Regions from separate parts of the Homo sapiens genome. Here regions 1, 3, 4, 5, 6 and 7 are each linked to region 2. Evidence: promoter capture Hi-C in human tissues and cell types (Jung and others, 2019). All regions are on one chromosome and are shown on one strand. Each heading gives the region's core, a stretch centred on a gene start or on the middle of the fragment in contact. The rest is flanking DNA. Distances are from core to core; before and after follow the strand shown. Region 1 has its middle 210 kb from the start of LINC00474. Region 2 holds the start of PAPPA (pappalysin 1). Region 3 has its middle 190 kb from the start of LINC00474. Region 4 overlaps LOC105376234 (a long non-coding RNA gene). Region 5 overlaps LOC105376234 (a long non-coding RNA gene). Region 6 overlaps LOC105376234 (a long non-coding RNA gene). Region 7 has its middle 75 kb from the start of LINC00474.

Region 1 (2,821 bases), core at 312-2,811, 440 kb after region 2:
TCCTGGCTAACACAGTGAAACCCCGTCTCTACTAAAAATACAAAAAAAAATTAGCCAGGCGTGGTGGCAGGCGCCTGTATTCCCAGCTACTCGGGAGGCTGAGGCAGGAGAATGGCGTGAACCTGGGAGGCGGAGCTTGCAGTGAACCGAGATCGCACCACTGCACTCCAGCCTGGGTGAAAGAGCAAGACTCCGTCTCAAAAAAAAAAAAAAAAAAGAAACCGTAGCAGTAAAAATCATGCTCCTGTGGTATATGTGTTCATACCTACCTCAGCCACTAGGAGAAAAAAGATTCAGACTGGAAACCTAGTGAGAGGCCCCAAGTTCTGCTCCTACTTCCCACAAGCAAGTGACTCAAACTCTGTGCTTCAGATTCCTAATTTCTAAAATAAGTAGCTCAAACCATACCAGAACTCCCCAGAGTATATCCAGTGGAACATCATTTCTCAAGATGCTGAAGTAAGGAATCTGTGTTAAAATGAATTCAGTTGATGTTGTAACACACATCACGCTTTATGATTCATAGTGCATATTAGCTATCAAAAGTTCAGATTGGCCCTTAAGTAATGAAATTCATTTTTTCATGGAATCACTTAAAAGCATTCTGTAGAAACAAGGACCTAAAAAAATGCTTTGGGAAAACCAGATGGAGTACTTTCAGACACTTCTTTGGGATTTAAACTGTGGTCCTGTAGAGAGTACACCATGCTTGGAGACTTGTAGTTCCAGATAATTATCTCTCATTTGGCGTTGGCCCTTATTCAGAATTTTTTTTCTTACCTTACTTTCCACTCTTAGCTAATTGTCACATACATTCACTTCCTATATTTGTGTTAATCAGAACCCTTCTAGTCTCTAGTTATGGAAGCCTAACTAAAAGTACCAAAATAAAATAATGGTTTGGGAATGAATAGTTTTGGCCTATGATATCTGAAAAATTCAAGAATAACATAGCATAATTGATTGTCGCCAAAGATGGGCACCAGGAACTCCTCTATCCTCTGAAACTGAGGAGAGCAAAGATCACCTGGTGACCATCAAGCAGACCATCCAGAGGCAAATTCCTTATCTGAGGAATTTAGAAATAATTAGACTTCCCTATTATCTAAAGCAGGCATCTGGTTCCAGATTTCTTTCCCAAAAATGTGTAATTAACTGGAATTTCTATACATCTCTGGAATGCACGCATGTTGAAACTAACTGTGCAACCCTTGCTGACATCAAGGCACCAAAATGTCTACAAATGTAATCATTTATCATGACCTATGTGGCTAATATGGTCTAAATTATCCCAAGCTCCCACTTTAAGGTCCATATATACCCCTCAGGAAAAATCCACCACCACACACTGAGTCCTCTCTTGCTGAGGCATCCCGCTGCACTCTTCTGCAGTGTTCTTTCTAATAAAACTTTCCTTTTTCAAACCTATACTGTTGTCGTCATATAATTCTTACTAACCTGCAAGACGAACACTTTCCAGTGCTGGGGTTCTGAGACTTAGCCCCGCAGAAACTTTAAAACACTTTGCATCAGAAAGTGGAGTCTAATTCCCCTATCCCTGAATTTACAAGCTAAAACTTGTAAGCTTCTTTGGCCAATAAAATGTAGCAGACGTGATGCTGAAAGAGTCTGGGCTTGTCCCTTAAGACGTTTAATTGCTGCCTTTCTTGCTCTTTTGCTCATTTGCTATGTAAATGAGCCTGAGCCGACTACTGGACTGCTGAATGATAAGAGAAAAGTAGGTATGAGGAGAGAGAGAGAGAGAGAGAGAGGAGAGAGAAGAGAGAGAAGGAAAGAGAGATCAGAAGATGAGAACTGAGGTTCTGTAGCAGACAGCCAGCGCTGGGGCCCCAGATACTTAAGTGTTTCCCCGGAATGTTATAGCCTCAGCCAAGCTCCTGACTGAAGGAAGCACCCTTATTTATTGACTCCAGTCAACACCATATGCAGCAGAAGAACCACAAGATGATCCCAAAATTATAAGAAAAGTGTTTTTTTAAAAAGTTGTTTTTAAGTCCTTAAGTGTTAAGAGAAATGCTAGATAGGGCTAAATAACTGGGGAAAAAAAAAAAAGAAAAGAAATTAGTGTGAACGTGACAAAAATATAAAATACGTGGCATTGGCTTTGGGACCAGGCTGCAAGCGGAGGCCAGAGGGTGATGAAACTCTTAGTGGAGGATGGTGCAGAAGTGTGGAAATTGCTTTGGGGGCTGCAGGAAGGGTGATGGGTGTTATGAGTAGAAACATTATTACTTAGAGTAAAATTGAAATTTTAAGAAAAAATCGACCCAATGAGCTTGTGAATCTTGCCGAGATTTTCAGGAAGAATATTGACAGTATTAATTGGGTCTTTTGTCTGCCTATTATGAGAATGGAGACTCAGTTAAGAAAGAGATGTTCATTTCCCAATCAGAATTTAGAGAAAATACTTCCAACCTAGGATTTACAGGACTCGAAAATAGAACTGTATCTAATTCTCATCTACTCCCGCTGGCATATGACTAGAAAGTAAGATATGACCTCGGGGCAAATGTAATAACCTGGATACTTCCAGTGAAACGTGAGGATGGGATCAAGGTCAAATCTAAGGTGTGGTTTTATCACCCATTATTAAGACATCAGACATTTTTAAGTTGTTACATTTAAATCTTTCTCAGGTAGTCCACAGAGCTAAAAATCTTTAAGGGTATTGTTCCACAGCATGTTGATTCTGAGTCCGAAGTGGAGAGAGTTAGAATTTGAAGAGATAATACAGGTGTGAGAGTATCTCAAGTCAATTATAACTGGATATGTAGAGACCCCATAAAGTTTTTTATTGTTA
Region 2 (3,219 bases), core at 345-2,844:
TCGCAAAGTGTCCGATTTCACTATAGGCTTTGCTGTGGAACAGCGAAGGGGAGAGAGAGGGAGGTTGAGGAGGGAGAACTCAAATTCATTACGGGCTCATAAAGTCCCATATGAGAAAAGCGCCCCGTTTCGCAGCCGCGTCTGGGGAACGCTGGCGGGGTATGCGTTAGGAAGGTCTCGTCCCAGCCCCGAGTGACAGGCAATGGGCTTTAAAAGCTAGGACATGGGATGGCGTGGAGGGGGTGAGGGTGAGTCCCAGAGGCAGGCTTCAATCAGTGAGCAACTTTGGGGCACTTCGAGGACTTCTAAGTCCTGGCCATTACAACAACCTTGCCCTTGCCGGCTTTCAGGGGAATGGGGCCTAATGAAGGGGAGTTACCTCCATTAAAACGTCAAAGAAATCAACGGTCCCCAAGTCTCCTTTCACATGCATCTCAATTGGGTCATCCTCCCTTTCATCCCAAAAGGAGAGAGTGCATCTGACCATTCGGAGCACGGGTTACGTGCCCTAGGCTCCGGGAACCAGCCCTCACTGGCCGAGGGTCCGCGGGGCCGCCAGGAGGGCTCCCCAGGTTCCTCCCAGGGATGGAGCAGCTACGCCTTCCGAGTGTGCCCATTCCACCGATGGAGCAAAGTGAGGCTCTCAGCTCGCCCGGATGTCTCTGCGCCGCTCGCGGGGCAGCTCTCGCACAGACACGCCCGCAAGCCCCCGACCCGCCCGCCACCCGCGCCCAGACACCCGCGAGCCTCTGGGGCCGCAGGGACGGTGCAGCGCCCGCCGAGGCGCCCTCACCTACCTGTGATCACTGCCGGAGACCTCTGGCCCCCCTCCGCTCGCAGCCACACTTGCAGCGTGAACGCGTCCCGGGGCAGCTCGAGGTCGGCCCGGAGGCGCAGCTGCTCGCCTCGCCCGCTGAAATAGAGCGCCCGGCTCGGCGGGCTCGGCTCCTCGGTGGCGCCCCTCGCCTCCCGCTGCTGCCGCCGCCGGGGGACGCGCACGGCTTCCCAGGCACCGCCCGGCGGCGGCGGCGGCGGCGGCGAGGCGCGGCGGCCGCGGGCCGCCCGGGTGGCGCAGGTGGCCGGGCCGGCGGCGGGGCGCGGGGGTCGGCCGGCCCGCGGGTCTCTCCGGGCCCGGCGGGGACGCTCGGCCAGCCCGCAGCCCAGCGCGGCGCTCAGCAGCCCCAGGTGCAGCACCCAACTCCAGAGCCGCATGTCCGACGGTTCCCCCCGCCCCCCCTTCGCCCCTGCACCGCCACCCGGAGCTGCCAGCTTTGGGAGCCTCGGCGCCTCGACTTTCTTCGCTTCTTCACCCTTCTTGGGCGAGCCCCCCTTTCCACTTGCTTTTTTCTTTTCTTTCTCGCTTTCCTCCTCAAGGTGTGTGCTCCACTCTCCCCACCTTTGAAAAATACAGCCCAACTCCTCCTGGTTGGCAATTAATTTCTCTCCCCGCTCCTTTATCTGCCTTATTTTTCCCCTAACAGCTGGTTGCCTTCCTCCTTGTTTTATTTCATTTTATTTTATATGATTTCTCGCTCCAAAAAAAAGCTCCTCTTAAGACTGATCCGCTGAATTCCCTCCCCCCAAAAGATGCTCTAATTTATTTATTTTTTGCGTCCTTTATAACACAAGCCACAGCCCCCTTCTCCCCCCCCAAGTCCCCCCTCCCCTCCCTCCTTCTTCTCAAAATGAAAGGAAAGAGGGGGAAAAAATCCCTCAGAAGATGAGTAAACAAGCGTATGCTAATCTGCTCCCCAGCGCTCCACCTTCCCAATTGAATGAGTCCCTGTTAAAACTGCGGGGATCATGACTAATCAATCAGTTTGGAGAGGCCGAGCTATCCAGCTTTCCTTCACTTTGCCTTTTGCCTCCTTTCCTTCGCTCCCGCTTCTCCACCACCCCCTCCTTTTCTCTCTCTCTCTCTCTCTCTTTTTTTTTTTTTTTTTTTAAGGAGACAATCTTAAAGTAACAATTTAATGAAATTCTGTACACACCCCCTTACGGTCCTCCCAGCTCTCATTCCTGCTCAAAACACACATTCCTGTTTTTGTTTTGTTTTGCTTGCTTTTTTTCCCTCCCTCACTCCCCCCACTTATTATTATTATTTCTGATGGCAGGAGAAAAATCTGTCTCTTCTCTTAGGATCCCCTTTGCACTTTGCTGGTAAACCTCATCCTTTTCTGTAGCACATAAAGAGTCTTGAAACTTGATTCTTAGATTTTTTTTTTTAATTCTCTCTCTCTGTCTCTCCCTCCCTCCCTCTCCCTCTCTTTCTCTTTTTCTCACTCTCTCCCTTACTCTTCTTCCCGCTTCCTCTCCCTTTACCTCTTTCCCTCTTCTTTTCCCTGTCCTTTTCCCTCTCAGAATTTCCTTAAAGTTGTACGATGATGAACCATTCCCCTCTTTTCTGAGCCCCCAGATAAGGCTGGCTTCAGCTAACCCAAATGTTTCCAAAGTTCTTATGGAATCATCAGAAGAAAATAGAAGAAAGGCACTGTCCAGGACATCTGCCTTTCAGAAGCTGTAGTCCTAGTACAACTGGGTCTCTGAATTTCCCCGAATACTCTTTAAAATACTCTGTTGGTCATTAGAAATTATTTTAATTTTATAAGAAGAAAATGAGAGAAAAATATTAATTTGCCTAATGTTTTCAACTTAAGCAATTCAGGTCCTCTGAAATTGTTAAAGTCACAGGTAAGGATCTGACCATTTGCTGCTTTGTAGGTCTGTTTTTGAACTGGGACATACATGTAATATATTTTTTTCTTCTTTTTTCCCCCTCTTTATAGAACTCAAAAGCTCCCCCTTATGGCAAAACAGATCTTCTTTTATTTTGTCCAAGTGTTTAATAAGTCAAAACATGTTAGCAATGGTGGATTACAAGCTATTAATTACCAATCTATTCCAATAAGGTAGTGATAAAAATATTCTGTGTGAAGTTTGCATGTGAATAGCGTGCTGAAAGTCTGCGATAAAATTAACTCCACTAAATTGTAACTTTCTTCTTCAATTGCTCTTATCTTCCGAGCTGCTCCAGATCTTTCTTGAGAGCTAGGAACATTGCTACACGCTTCAGGAAGAGAGAAAACCAAGGAAGAATGTTTGTTGGCAAAAGTATGACGATTTGTCGGATGAGCAAATGACTCAGACATCCCCTCTATGAAAGCTGGAATGCGATATATGCAAAGATTATGGAAGCTTTCTGAAAATGGGAGATCTCAG
Region 3 (2,964 bases), core at 366-2,865, 420 kb after region 2:
ATATTATTGTTCTAATATATAATAACTAGTGGCATATACATCTGATGCAACGAGGTAGTAGGTAGTTTATGGAACTTTTCAGACCAGGCCTTAACTCATACCAATCCAATACATCTCAGAAAATGTTAGCCAGGTAAACATAGAACGATCTCACCTAAATATAGAGAAGACTGGTGGATTTGTCATCATAAATGGAGTCAACTGTCTTTAAGAAAGTGTTTGCTGACTACGAATGGAAATGACTAAAATTTATTCTTATAGGGAAACTTTAATCTTTTTTTTTTTTTTTTTAGAAAGGGCAGGGCTAGGGTAGATAAGGACTTGCAGAATCAATGGCACTTGTCCTGTGCCTTGAAGAATGTGTACGTCTTTGATGAAGTAAGGAGGTAAGGGAGGCTATTGTAGGTGGGCCAACCACATAAGAAATGGGATGGAGAACTAGCAGAATTTACTCATAAGTATATTCTTTAATCCTTAGGCTTCCTCTTGAAAGGAATTTCCTTAAAGATGCATTCCTCAATACCCCAGTTCAATAGTGTTCACTTTTTTCCCCTCCCTCATAGCATACTACAGTTTTCCTTCAAATTACATATTATAATTTAAAACTGAATATCTATTTATGTATGTTGATGGGGCCACCCATCAACATACCAAGTAGAGTGGTGTGTGTGTGTGTTTTAATTCAGTCTCCCCTGTTAGGCTGTAAGTTTGTTCTGTGAGGATATAAATCTGGTGTATTTTTACAAATAAAACAAAATAAGAAAAAAGTGACAAAAAAGCATATGTTACAGTTAGCTACATTTTATAAAACCTATTTACTCTCTTTTCTTATTCAACAATAACAGCCAAGCAAGCAAATAACAGAAAAAGTAAAGGAAACCAAACAACATCAAAATTTAAAACCAACAAACTAGTCATGTGTGATGTCTAGCACCATACATACCTGACGCATTGTAAATGCTATTACACATTTTTCATTGAATGAATGGATTAGTCAAGTGACCTGCCTGCATAGAGGGTGGTGCAGTGCTGTAGAAATAGAGATATGGATGAGGAGCAAGATAGGTCACTCTGTCCCTGCCTCCAAGACAACTGTGGATCAATCCCTATTCCTCTCTTAGCCTTCATTGTGTTTTCTGTAAATTCAGAGCTAAAGGCACTCAGTGGGTTTTCTGGTACTAACGTTCTAGGATTTTTAATGCTTCTTTAATTATTTACTGAGAAGTATTTGCATTATACTAGTTAGTACCCATTAGTAAGAATACAAGATATGATGGTGCTTTTTAATATACAAATAAAGGATTGTTAAGAGTTCTTTTTTCCTTATCATATAAATATACATTGAGCCCCTACATACAAGGTCTTAGGGGAAGCAGAGAGCAGTAAAGAAACATGGCTCCTGACTTTGAGCAACAGAGATAGAGAATGAAAGAGGAATAAAAGAATGATAATTTAAAATGACAAGAAAAATAACAAGAAGAAAGATGCAGGAAATGTAAAGGAGAGGTAAAAGAAAGTGAAGATGAAAAGGGGAAGGACGTGGAGAAGGAATGATTTCTTGGGCATGTATTTTATGCATCTTATCCTATTTTACTGATGTTGAAACTGAGGTTCTAACAGATTAAATCTAAAGTTATTGGTAGGACTTGGCTTACTTCCAAAGCTGACTGCTTTATGATCTTAATATTGAGCCTATGATTCCTCTCTGCCTGGTGAAACCACATACAGGGAAACAGGCAGTTGCACTGATGTGGTAAGGGACTTGAGAGAGACCTGCATCCTTTTCATTTGTAATCCAAGACCAAGGGCCCTGCCCTCTTGTTCCTCTGGAGTCTCCCTCTTAGTACTTAGCATGCTTATGTTTCCCCTGCACTTAAAAGAAAAATGAAAAGAAAAGAAAAAAGAAAATGTTGCTACAGCAAACTGAAGGGAGAAAGACTATTTTCCCCCAAAGAAAGAGGAAGCTTGCAGAAGCTTGGGGTAAAGACAGGGCGGGGAGATGGCAGGGGAGGATCAAACTGAAGCCTAAAGGCTTTTGGCTTCTCTCCTCAATTCTTCCTTCTCTTCTTTGCAGCTTTTAAGTTTCATTCATTGTATCAGTGGGATTTGGGGATTGGACTGAAGTTGCGGTAATAGAGGTGCCCGAGGCAAACTTTGATTCTTTAGTTTCCAAGAAAAACAATTATCCTAATCTAGCCTGCCATCCCTTCTTCTCCCCCAGCAGTGGAAATTCACTGGGTTCAGAGAGCATTCTTGGGAGGAGACGTGTGCTGTTTCAGTCACATTACATTGTGTGACTACAATTTGCCCAAATTCCTTTTTTCCCCCACTTACATTATTTGCCATTTATTTATTAAGCATTTACCCAGTGCTTCATATAACTAGCCTTCATTGAGCTCTTCCCAGGAGCCCAGTGCTTAGTCAAGGATGTGAGATATATTATTTCATTTAGTCTTCACGGTGACCCACAAGGTAAATATAATTTTTATCCTTGTTTATTCCAAAGAGATTAAGTAACCTGCTCAAATTCACAGATATGAATTAGACTAGCCAATATGTGAACTCCTTCATTGCCTGTCTTCAGGGCCTGTGCTCTTAACATGTCATCATACAATCTCTGAACCACAACCCCTGTGTCCTAATTACCATTCTATGATTTTTAAATAAATCTTGAAACCAAGACACAGAGGGCTGAAGCAATTGCTTCAGGTCCCACAGCTTGAAAACAGCAGAGGTAAGATTTGAATTCATTATGTTTCTTTGTTGTTGTTGTTGTTTTTCTTTATTTCTTCTAAAAAAAGAAAGACAACAAAACACCATACATGTGCAGAACGTGCAGGTTTGTTACATGGGTATACGTGTGCCATGATGGTTTGCTGCACCTATTGACCCATCCTCTAAGTTCCCTCCCCTCAGCCCCTACCCCATAGCAGACCCTGGTGTGTTTGTTCTCCTCTCTGTGTC
Region 4 (3,061 bases), core at 81-2,580, 400 kb after region 2:
AATTCATTTTTCCTTTTTATTTATTTTAAAAATAGTATTTAGAAACTATTTTGAAACTTTAGGTGTGCTCATTATAATTGCTGTACTACAGTATTATTACTTCTAGGCCCTCTCAGCAGACAAAAATGAAAAAAAAATAAGTATGCACACACACACATCTACATCAATTTAACCGTATATATACACAAATGTGATTTATGTGTGTGTGCATATGAATGTGTGTATATAAATATATACACACATACATATATTAATATATACATATATTGTATATAATGCATATAATATATACATATATAAATATATACACACATACATATATTAATTTATTGTAATACCTCTGATTCAAATCCAACATTACACAGTTCATTCTAGCCTTCAACCTTTAATTATGATTCCTTTCTTCAAAAATGAGAAAACTGGCTTTCATTATCCATGATTTGATAGCAAGTTTATTTATTTGCTATCTTAGAATGCATTTAAAGTCATTCCAGGATTACTAACGTTATGGAAAACAAACTTATTAACTAGAGTAAAATTCCATGTACAGTTATTTTTGTTGTTAGCTTTGCAATTTGTAGTCGAAATCCTGTTTTCCAGTATTACTTAGGTTAGTCCTTAACTTTCCCACTCCCTTCAGTAAAATGATTTCATCTATTTTTTGTAGAGTTAGTTCATTTGTTAATGTTTGTATTCTGCTTAAAGTTTACCTCCTTCCCAATTCTCCGTTGATTTTGTCTGTCTATTTGATTGGTTGGTATTTATTTATTTGGTATGTGATATACTATCACTCTTTCAAAAGTCAAAGCTTTACAAAGACATATACTCAAGGAGGTACCACTCATCCTTTATTCCTTCCAACCAATTTCCATTCCCTTATTCTTTCCTACCCACTCTCTGCAGGCAATCCATCTTGTTAGTGTCTGGTTTACCTTCCTGTATTTCTTTTTGAACAAATGTACATATACATGCATATTGATTTATGCCACCTTATTTTTACATGAAAGGTTGCATACTATGATACTGTAAGAGAATGAAGCCTCAATCCCTAATCTTTCCAAGTACTGAATTATTAAAGTTATAAAACTAGAGAATAAGTAAACCATTCTTGAAGCCACATAAACATAAGGTCTTAAGTACAAAAGGCAATAGCATAAAAATATATTAATAGTTACTCAAATTTCAGCCTAAGCCTCCTCTATAAGCACCTACAGCAAGGTTTCTATATGTTATTCAATGATCCCAAATCCAGAAAAGTTGTAATACTGAGCAAAACTTCCACAAAATCATAGCTATTAACTTGGATATAAATGATACTTTGTAACTTCTAATACATTTTTTCACTCATTATTTTATTACACACCCCTATCATCCTGTGAGGTAGCAAGAAGTTGTTTTCTCATCTTCATTTTTACATATGGACACACTGGAACTCACTTACTTGCATACTTGTCTGCCATCCCCAACACATGCTGATACTCTGGAAACCATGCATTTTGCCTTATCACTCCTCTAATGCCTAGCAGAGCTACATGCTACTTATGCAGTGGCAAGGAAACATTGATTGGACAAGATTAAATAGTAAATCCAAGACAAATAGCTAGTCAGGGGTGAAGTCAGGAGTCCTTAATTTATTTAGTGATTCAACAAGCATTGAACATTCAATAAGCATTGGACATTTATTTTACACTTGGTACAAGGGACAGAAAGATAAGAAATACGAGGACCATGTTTTCAAGGAATTCACTGTCTGTAAACACAGACGAATAAACATGTGATTAGAATATGATGAGAAGGCTATGATACAGATAAGTGTTATGGTATTCAGAATATATTTATTTATCTATTTATTTATATAAATTTAAGTGGCACAAGTGCAGTTTTGCTACAAGGATATACTACACAGTGGTGAAGTCTGGATTTTTATTGTAACCACTACCCAAATAGTGGTTTTTGGGTACACAATAGTGTACATTACACACATTTAGCAAGTATAGCTGTTTGGGATCTTGGAGTTACTGAGAGGGGGAGACCGATAGCTTTTGGTATAAGCACCTTCTTGGTGCCTGGAATATTTCATCCTTCTCTTCTTTCACTGTGGTTCTCCCATAGACACTTTTATAACTCATGCTTAGTCTTTGGGTCTCATTCTCCACTTTTTTTCTTCCATGAAGATGCCCCTATTCTGATTGAATTTGAGAATCTTCATTTGGAGTTTGCTATCACTCTGTGTTTTTCTACATTCAAGAATTTTTTAGAAGGTATAAATGCTGGAGGTAAAAAGTCGTATTAATTGCCGCTATCTTGGAACACCGCATAGTGGAGAAAACATGGGCCCCGTTACTGAGACTCAGTTTTCCTGGTATGGCAGAGTGGAATAGGAATTGGGAGATCAAAGGTCAACTGAATCTGAGCTCTGCTCCTCTTGGCTATGTGATTTTGGACAACTTGTTTAATTTCTTTAAAGTGCTATTTTCCTTTTTCCGAAATGTACGGATAAAAATGGTACTTACTTCAAGCTCTATGGTCAGAATTTAATATTAAATATAATAAAAATAAAGTACTTATAAAATATCTAGCATTTAGAAAATACCTGTTAGTTAAGCATCAACTATTATTATTCTATCCTTCACCAAACTTCTAGACTATAAATCACTCTGTTGTCTCCTCTATCCCAGTGACCCCACAAGATGTAAACCAGCAGGCAGGAAGAGCACTCCAGGAACTGCCCCTTTTGGCCCATGAATCTTTCTACCTGTTGGCCCCCAATGTCACTTCTAGACTGTGGTGTATTGTCTGTCTTCCACCTCTGCCCTGAAAGTCTGATTCCAACGTGCTACTCAGGTCCTCTCAGTTCCAGTGTCTTGGTCATGAGGCCAATAAAAATGTAGACCCTTGGGGATTGGAGCATTCTTTGAATTTTGATAATCAGAGTGTCTATGCCCAAATGAATACTAATGCCAATCCATAGTTCTCAGATTTCTGAACTATCAGAGTGGGAAGGAATCTAAAGAGAAGGATTCATTTTACAGATGGAAAAAGCTGAGGTCATAAATCAAAT
Region 5 (3,043 bases), core at 267-2,766, 360 kb after region 2:
AACAATCATATGCATGTTCTGTTTAGTTTCAGAATCTAAAATTAAATTGTTTAATTTTAAAAATAAAAAGTGATTCTTAATAATTATAACAACATTTATTAAACACTTGCTATGTTTTGGGCATTGTTCTAAGTGCTCCTCATGTTTTGTCTATAGAATCTCAGAAAAAAAACTTCAGTGAGGTAGATCATATTATTATCCTGTATATATAACAGAGAAAGAAACTGAGGCACAGAGATGGCAAATAATTTTTTTAAAAATTATCTTGTTACGTGGCAGAACCAATCCAAAATTCCAACTCAGGGTGTCAGACTCTAGAACTCAGGCCTCAAGCATTATGCTTGATCACTTCTTCCATGCCTTGAAAGATGGTCAAATAAAGCAGTGTGGCTATTCTGATGTGGGAAAAAGAGATAACAGAGAGCTAAGGAAAATGGCAGCCTTCTACAGAAACTTCATTTGTACCTGCAATGAGTAAACACAACTCACTTTCTCCACCTGCACTTTTTACACAAGCACAAAAGAGTGAGCTGAGGTGAACCATGTCATTAGGGGCCTAAACTCCAATTGTCCTTCTCTCTGGCCTGGAGCCAGATCCCCTGCTTTAGGCCGTGTCATTTTCCTCTGAGGTATGCACAAAGTAGAGGTTATTCGTGTCACATCTGTTCCTGCTTTTTGGGTCCATTGGAAAAAAAAAAATCACTGACTTTATTTTCCAAGGGAGCCCCTTTTAAGAAAGACCGGATACAGGGTGGCCAGGAGGGAAACCTGTGTACGTCCTTAAAAGCAAACCTTTCAGCATTAGCATTCATAAAGCATATTTTGGCATATGTGCTCAGACTCTAATGTCTCCCCACCGACCCCTGTTCGGGTTTAGAATTTCAGAAACGTCACAATGCTACATTCCTTCTCTGCAAAGAAAATCGAACCTGTATGTCTATATTACACACCCATATGCAAAATCTTCACAGATAGGATGGGCTTTTCTCTGGCTTTTCCTGAGAACAGCCTCCAACTTTAAAATAGCCTTGCATTTTTTGAATTCTGGTTTTTTAATGAAGAGGCTTTCTCCTGCTAAGAGCCTTTGTTTGAAATGAGTAGTGTTTTCAGTAAGCATTATTTCTAAGATTCTTCCATACCGTCTAATATATTCACTCTCTTAAAATACTCATGGTGTACAGCTGGATGTGGTTATAGGCAAATTCTATATCTACAAATAAATTAATATATGAAAGTAAATTGAAATTTGTAAACAATTTTTAGGGCAATGTGTACAACTCCTTGAAATGGGACATTCTGGATATATTTTCCTTTTCTCTTATGGTAAATTAGTGGTAATTTGATTATTAGATAGACATATAACAATTGCCTAGCCATGTAAGCAACATCCTTTACTTCAAGCAGCTAAGGAACCATTTAGCTGCTAAGCTATGGAGTGGAGAATTGGTTAGAGGAAAAGACCCTGAAAGAAGAGATCAAAGAAAAGATGAGGACACAAAACATTCCTCACATTAATCACCAAATTAATTAGAAGTGGAGAGAGATCTTCCTTTCAGTCCTTTTTGACTATCCTACTTAAGACAGGCTCTTGGCTCTGAATTTATTATGGAGGATGTAACATTCCTATCCCATTTACCTGCATAGCTAATTCTCCTTTTATGCACTCATGTCTTGCCTCCCTAAACATACACTAGAAACTCTTTGTGGACAGGAAATATGCTTTGCAATTATACATGTTCTCCTGTTTAGCCCATTACTTTCTACTCAATAAGCATTGATTACACTATTACAGGTAATGCGCGCGCTCTCTCTCTCTCTCTCTCAGTCTCACTCTTCTTATCTTACCCTTTGAACAATCTGCTCTGGCCACCCTTGATGACTTGATATGCCGGATACCTCCAAGTTCTCCAACTCCATTTATTTGTTGAGACAGATCCATTTGTTAGACATATAATACCCGAGTTTCTATTTCCAATTGTGTGACCATTCTTATAGGACTCAGGGAAAAACATTAGCTAATCTCAACCTCAACTTTCTTATCTATAAAATGTAATTATTAAATGGAATGTATACAAAAAGCTTGGAATGGTGCCTGACATGTACTAAGCATTTAATAAATATAATTTTCTTTACCTTTCCCTACTTTTCTACCTCCTTTTGCCTGTCCCATGACAGCTATCTCATTGGCCTTTGTCTTTTGGCATCTCTCATCCTTTCTTCTTACAAGGAAAATAAAATAAATTAATACAAAGCAATTGTAATTTCATTTTTAAAAAGACATGCTTGGTTGGAAAAGAATGATGTGCTGTGGTATTGTACCACCTGACTTTGACAGTAGACTAAAATACAAAGCCATGTCTTCATTTACTTGGCCAGTCCTTAGACATGTTTATGTCCTGCAGCAATTCACTGGAAAACAAATTGATCTTCATGAAATGGGAAACTGTTTACTTAAAGAAGAGGACAATTGGAAAGAGGGTTATGGAGTACCATTCGTTATGTATTCCTCAGTCAGAGTAACCCTGAAGAGTGTCTGTATGAGTGTGCTTACTAAATGCTCATTTACTGAATACCTTCAAGACTTCAAACCAGGCAGTAGGTGCTGCAGGTGACTTTAAGGTAAAAGACAGCATCTTTGATCTGAAGGGGTCAAACAGGAAAGACAGACATGCTAAAGCTGCATGGCAATGTAGTGGGATAAGGGTTTTCTGCTGGGAATACAGGAAGCTCTGGAAATGCAGGGAAGAAAACAAGAGACAGAGGAGGTTCCTAGAGGGAGTGATGAGAATATAAATGGAGGAAGCGAAAGCATGTGCAGCATTAGCACTGGATGAATCCTTAGAGGTTTTCTGGCCCAGTCCCTGCTAAGCCAGGTAGCTAAAGGCTAGAAAAATATCCAAGCTCACATTCTTTGCAATTTACATATGAGTCTATTGGATATGGACAGATGTTGCAGGCTCTGTTCTCTAGGTTCAGACGCTGAAATGAAGTTCAGCATACAAGATGTTTATTAGGGATCAATACCTCTGAAAGGAAGAGGGAG
Region 6 (3,078 bases), core at 150-2,649, 340 kb after region 2:
AAAGGACTAAATTTCCCCTTCTCTTGAGGACACCAGCCATATTCCATCAGGGTCCCCTCCAATGGCCTCACATTAACTCGATTACCACTCTAAAGAACCTCTCCGAGTTACATTCTGAGTTACTGGAAGTTAGGTTCATCAACATATTAATTTAGGGACAATAATTCAACCCATAACATATGGATTCCCCACATTTACTCTCTTCTCTGCTCTTCTCTGCCACCTCCCAATTGTCATTAATCTTTTTCCAAACCATTGAGATCAACAGCAGATATGCCTCCATGACTCCTCAATTCCCCACTGTGTATTTACCCCAGGCAAGGGCATTCTCTTCCATCACCACTGTATAAGCCTCCAAATCAGAAAATCAACCTTGATACAGTACAAGCATCCAATCCACATGCCCCATTCAAATTTCACCAGCCATCCTAACAGTGTCCCACTGGCGGTTCTGGCCAAGCATATTATTCAGGAATGCGTGTTGCTTTTAGCTGTTCGATTTTATCAATCTCCTTCAGCCTGAAACAGCACCTTAGCCATTCTTTGGCCTTCATGTTCTTGATAGTTTTTAAGAGTATAATCCATTCATTTTGTAGACCAAACCTCAACCAGAGTATTTCTAAAGTTGGCCTGACACAGTCCTTGCCTTCTTTTTTTTTTTAAAAAAAAGTCTTAAATAAATTGTATTTTTTAAAGCAGTTTTAGGTTCATGACAAAATTGAGTGGAGAGTACAGAGTTTCCATATTCCTCCTGCCCCCTCATCATGCACAGTATTCCCCACTATCAGTAACTGGCATCAGTGGTAGTTATTGTAACTGATGAGCTTACATTGACACATCATGATCTCTCAAAATTTATAGTTTACATTAGGTTTACTCTTGGTATTGAACATTCTATGGGTTTGGACTAATAAGTAATAATATGTATTCACCATTATAGTATCATACAGAATAGCTTTATTGCCCTAACAATTCTCTGTGCTCTGCCTATTTATCCCTCTCTTCCCCCAGCCTCTGACAACCCCTCATTTTTTTACTATCCCCATAGTTTTGAATTTTCCAGAATGTCATATAATTGGATCATATAGTATATAGTCTTTATAGTTCTACAGAGTCCTATATGTTCTGAGAGGGGTACCACAGAAGTGACACTGTGCTTTTTTCAACGAGTTCCATCAGGAAATGCATGCTGTTGACTCATCCTTCTTGTGGTCATGTCAGACTTTATCACCTGGTCATATTGTTCTTGATCAGATTTCTCCACAATACAGTAATCATTTCTTCTTTATAACTGATGAGTAGTTTGCAGGGGTGGGTGGATACTCAGATATTACCTTAGTGTCTTACTTTTGTCAGAACTCCACCCACTTTCCTAACAGCCATCATGACTTCTGCCTAAATCAACCACAACTATGATGCTTGCCAAGTGGCGTTTTTTTCTATTTCCATTCTATATTTCCTTCTATATTTTTTAGTTGTCATCTCAATACAGGGAAGAAATTTCTCTTTTACCCCATTCATTGATATGATTAATGGCTTATTTATTTATTTTACTATGGACTCATGGATTTTAATTAATTTAATGGGTCAATATATGTTACTACCACTTTCTGATTTGATGCTCAAATCTTCCCATCTGTGGTGATTAGGAACCTTTTGAACTGGCTCTGAAATTCTTTTGACATGTTTCAGTATTCTTTGAGCATTTCTTTATTTTCTAGCAAAACAAGATATTCTGTGCACCTCTCATACAATTTCAGTCCTGGATTCAGCCATTAATCCAAGGGCCTGTCATTCCTTTTAGTAGAAGAAGGTATTTAGAAGCTAAGTTTGTTTGACTATTCAGCGTGCTCATTGCCACTTCTCTGTCATGGCTTAAGGACTTCCCAATGGACAGAGGTAGAAAAATTATGTGTATGTGTGTGTGTGTGTACGCACATATATATGTGTGTGTGCATGTGTATATCCATATATACATATACAAAATTGTGTGTACACATATATATGTGTGTGCATGTGTATATCCATGTATACATACACAAAATTCTTATATTTATGTATATACAAATGTACCTAATAAACATAAAATTCATGACAATCCCTTTGGCTGCCCACAAATTTGTTTTCACTCTTCTCATTGATGGGTGACTTGATGTCATTTTTCCTTGAACCTAGACAAACTTGTGACTCATGTATAACCAATAGAGATGGGAGAAATGATGCCACATGTTTACTGAGACTCAGTTAGCAAAGGCATGCAGCTTTCACTTTGTTCACTAGAATGCACAAGTATATGGAGCTAGCATCAAAAAAATTCAACTGCCCTAAGGACTCTGGATGATTCCAGTCCCCTGCAGTTGGGTCTGCCGAATCATGGAAGTCTTTCCAGCTGAGGCCCCAGATGTCATGGAGCAGGCTGTCTGTGCCCCCTGTGCTCCCCCGGATCCCTGACCCACAGGATATGCAAACAGAAAAAGTTGTTTTGCACGACTAAATTTTGAGATGGTTTATCATATAGCAATAAAAAACTGTAAAAATCTCTAATTGCAAATGAAATACCTTCGTGTTCTTCTAGATGTCTTCCTTTTTATATTTGTAAATTATTTTACTAGTAGTAAGAAAACCGGCTCTCATTATTCTTAAAATATTTACTCATTTGCTCAATCATCTGACTTATTTGCTTAATGTAAGCAATCTCCCAACCACACTGGCTTCATCTTCTTCCCTGCTTCTGCCTCCTTGGCCCCTGGCCACACCACTACATGCGTATATTCTCCTCACTGCCCATATGAATCAGCACCTCTGGGCAGCCAGGTATACTGATGCCCTCACTCCCACCTCCATCCATTTTCCTTGGCAGCAGGACATGCCGATGCCTATGAACAGGAAATGGAACGGAAGAAGAAAAGGAAAATAAGGAAGGGAAACTGCTGTTATTTTTATTTCAGCTGAAAAAAATCTCAAGGGCTAGATTTGGACAACAGTTGGCAAATTATAGCTATATGGTCATTGTTATAGTGTCTGCTCTGATCCAGTAGAGGATGCTTGGCTGCAAAACTTACCACAAGTGGGTTTCAC
Region 7 (3,171 bases), core at 289-2,788, 300 kb after region 2:
CTAAACTGTTCAGATTCTTCTTTGAGAATTACTTGAAAGAGAACAGAGACAATTCAGCCACCTCTCATTTCCACCCTGCTTGTTTAGCTGAAATGAGTCTCAATCTTAGACACTAATTCCTATTTCTCAGGAAGAACAGAATGAAATGCTCTGTTTGCCAACAGTGTCCACAGTGATTAATCTGTACTCATCTTGTGGTTATGTCTGGAGAAAAGCATGAAGCCATATTTGCATAATTGTTTATAAACTCATCCTACTCCTTGGTGGGTGTGTATTTACCCCACAAGCTGCACTCAGCTGAGGTTAATACTCTCCAGAGTAACAGAAGAAGAGCTGCAATCATTTTAGTAGAGCAATTGTGTTCCTTAAGGGGCATCAGAAAGACCTAACTCTTTCACTTGACTGCTCTCTTAGCAAAGATCATTGTTAAGGTGATTTGGTTGATGAAGAAAACTGACATTTATTGAATTCCTAAGGATTTAACAAATTCATTTTGCATTCAACAACAAGAAAAAAAGTAAAGCAGTTATTACATGTCTTGTACTAGACAGGAAGCTGTAGCTCAAGAAGGTTAAATGTGTGGTCAATATCAAACAGCTACTATGTGTTGAACCAAGACTTGAGTTCAGATCAAATTCTAAAATGTTTTAGCTACATCCCAGTGCCCATCTGTTGTGTGCGTGTATGTGTTTGTCTCTGTGTGTGTGTTTGTGTGTGTGTGTGTGTGTGTGTGTGTGTGTGTGTTTTCTAAACCTATTCCTGCTTTTAAAGAAGGGAAGAGGGTTTGAAGGGATTATTATGTGTAGTCTCTGCCTAAGAGTTTGTTTACAAAATAAATAATCAATAAACATAGGATTGAAACTTTTTATAAAGGAAGTTCAAATTTTTGGGGGGTACACACATTTATTAAGTATTCAGTGTTTCTTCTATACATTTTCTACAATACACTAGCAGCAATTGTCATCTCTCCATGCTGTTTTGGGGAGTATTTGGGTTCTTTGGGATTGGAACACAAACAAACAAAACAAAACAAATACAAAAAGTATTTTTACTCTGTCTTAGATGCACCAAGCAGGGGAGAAATTAGTCAGCTGGAACTCAGCTGTTGATGCTTTGGCTAATAGTCTACAAACATGCCAAAAATATTCTTCCTTTTCAGAAAACTGTTAGCTAAGATCATGCAAAAGCCTGTAAGAAAAGTCGAGAAATTTGTATAGTTCTCACTCTCAAGTCAAGCCTGGAAAATGGCTTGCCCCAGTGGCTGGAAGCCAGCGAGTGTGATTATGTTGGAATCAGAGATGAAGAGAGAAAGACATCTGAGCCCACATTTCTTTCATTAAACACACCAGTTCTTCTGCCAGGATCATGGAGTTATTGGATTTGACCATGAGGAGGCATAACGAAACCCAAACCACAGGAAACAACATTATTGAATAGCTACTCTACCACATCCTGTAATACAAATATAACCAACCTCACCTATAACTATATTAAGCCCCCACAACATCCACACCAACAAGCATGTAAACAACAACAAAATAGTAAGACAGATAAATGAGGTTAATGAGAGTTGTTATAAAGAAAATTAAATAGAGTGATGCCACAGTAACTTAGGGTGGGGTAAAGGTTACTTTAGCTAGACTGGCCTTGGGAAAACCCTCTCCCTATATGTAATATATAAACTTGAATGATGAAAAGGAGCTATCCATCAAATATTCTGGGAAAAGAATATCCTACTAGAGCCTTTGTATGTGCAAAAATCCTGAGTTGAATATAAGTGTAGTATATGTGAGAAACAAAAGTAGGACCATTGTAATAAACAGAGAGAACGATAATAGGTAGGTGCTGAGAGGAGGGATCATGAAAGGCTTGGGAGGTTACGGTTCTTACTTTGAATGTACTTTAGGTACACTGGGATATTGTTAGATAGATTTAAACAAAGGAGTTATAGGACATAATTTATACTTTAAAAATGCATTGCTGAATGGAAAATGTAGTAAAGTATAGCAAGAGGAAAAATAGAGGACAAGTGTCTATGAGCAGTAGAAAGAAAACATTTACGGGACTTAGACTGTCATGGGTAGGGGGAGAGTGAGGCTGTTGACTAAATGAGAAGTGAAGGATTTACAGTTGTACTCCATGGAAGTAGAACATGTCAGAGGAGCCTCTGGATTTCTTGATGCCATTACTTTTTATTACATGACATGAAACATTTGTGCCACGGCACAGCTGTGCCTTGAACCCAGGAATGAATTCACATGGAATTTTAATGATTACACACTAATGTGGCTGGCAGTGTCTGTGACCATACACATGGAAAACAGGAGAGAGAGAGATGAAAAGAGTGAAGTAGGAGAAAATGTCAGCAACTGCTTTTAGTATTGAAAGAGTTTTAGGATCAAGTATTGATGTGAAGTCCTTGGAGAGCCACAGAAAAATCAAAAGCAAGACAGGATGGAAAGATAGAGAAGAAGGCATTAAAAAAGCAAAAATGGAAGACATAAGGATAGAAAGAGGGATTGAAGAAACAAAGAAGAACAAAGATGTATGTGATAGGGGGCATGGTAGAGACCTAAAGCCACAAACAGAAATTCCTTTCCAAATCTAGAATAACATACTTCAGAGGAACAGCAGACCTAAGAGTTTGGAACACTAATAATGAGAATCATTATTTTCCACATACCTTGCATATGAAAGGCACTATATTAATTGCTTTACGAGCTGCGTGGGGAAACAGACTTTGAGAGGTAATTCAACTTATCCAAACCCTACAACCACTTATTTGCAAATTCAAGATTCCAATCCAGAGCTATAGAATCCCAAACCACTTATCTCACTATAAATTAGCTTTATTTATTTTTGAATTGTTCATAAATAGCATCATATAGTGTGAATCTTTTTCTGGTGCCTGGTGTATTTCTTCAACATTTTGAGATTCATCAATGTTTTTGCATACTCCTTTTCATTGTTATAAAATATTTCATGACTATAACACAGCTTAGTGTTGATGAACACATATTTCCATTTTTTAAATTATTGTTATAGGCATTGAAGATAAGAACGCTCCTGAACATACCTTTTTTTTTTTTTTTTTTTTTAAGACACATTCTCACTCTGCTGCCCAGGCTGGAGTGCAGTGACGCGATCGATCTTGGCTTACTGCAATCTCCG

What was found. The method cuts DNA at HindIII sites, captures the fragments that hold promoters and counts their contacts. A contact is called where the count stands out against the background at its distance.
Region 1: a contact is called between a fragment that was not itself captured here and the fragment with the promoter of PAPPA in region 2, in 1 of the 25 tissues and cell types used here (mesenchymal stem cells).
Region 3: a fragment that was not itself captured here is called in contact with the fragment with the promoter of PAPPA in region 2 in 1 of the 25 tissues and cell types used here (mesenchymal stem cells).
Region 4: a contact is called between a fragment that was not itself captured here and the fragment with the promoter of PAPPA in region 2, in 2 of the 25 tissues and cell types used here (aorta and mesenchymal stem cells).
Region 5: a contact is called between a fragment that was not itself captured here and the fragment with the promoter of PAPPA in region 2, in 1 of the 25 tissues and cell types used here (mesenchymal stem cells).
Region 6: a fragment that was not itself captured here is called in contact with the fragment with the promoter of PAPPA in region 2 in 1 of the 25 tissues and cell types used here (mesenchymal stem cells).
Region 7: a contact is called between a fragment that was not itself captured here and the fragment with the promoter of PAPPA in region 2, in 1 of the 25 tissues and cell types used here (lymphoblastoid cells).

Annotation. Positions count from the first base shown.
Region 1 is chr9:115,711,552-115,714,372 of GRCh38, reverse strand. No RefSeq gene overlaps it. Among named protein-coding and RNA genes, the nearest start is that of LINC00474, 210 kb to the left of the region's middle. The HindIII fragment of the contact is 3,141 bases long and covers 1-2,821 here.
Region 2 is chr9:116,152,166-116,155,384 of GRCh38, reverse strand. PAPPA (pappalysin 1) reads right to left here and starts at 1,594. Exons shown (of 22, transcript NM_002581.5): 1 at 798-1,594. The coding sequence starts at 1,212. The HindIII fragment of the contact is 11,414 bases long and covers 1-3,219 here.
Region 3 is chr9:115,729,797-115,732,760 of GRCh38, reverse strand. No RefSeq gene overlaps it. Among named protein-coding and RNA genes, the nearest start is that of LINC00474, 190 kb to the left of the region's middle. The HindIII fragment of the contact is 4,632 bases long and covers 1-2,964 here.
Region 4 is chr9:115,747,834-115,750,894 of GRCh38, reverse strand. All of the region lies in intron 2 of LOC105376234 (a long non-coding RNA gene), which reads right to left. Among named protein-coding and RNA genes, the nearest start is that of LINC00474, 180 kb to the left of the region's middle. The HindIII fragment of the contact is 3,851 bases long and covers 1-3,061 here.
Region 5 is chr9:115,788,574-115,791,616 of GRCh38, reverse strand. All of the region lies in intron 2 of LOC105376234 (a long non-coding RNA gene), which reads right to left. Among named protein-coding and RNA genes, the nearest start is that of LINC00474, 140 kb to the left of the region's middle. The HindIII fragment of the contact is 5,609 bases long and covers 1-3,043 here.
Region 6 is chr9:115,808,560-115,811,637 of GRCh38, reverse strand. The region is part of intron 2 of LOC105376234 (a long non-coding RNA gene); the gene reads right to left. Among named protein-coding and RNA genes, the nearest start is that of LINC00474, 120 kb to the left of the region's middle. The HindIII fragment of the contact is 6,988 bases long and covers 1-3,078 here.
Region 7 is chr9:115,848,152-115,851,322 of GRCh38, reverse strand. No RefSeq gene overlaps it. Among named protein-coding and RNA genes, the nearest start is that of LINC00474, 75 kb to the left of the region's middle. The HindIII fragment of the contact is 8,692 bases long and covers 1-3,171 here.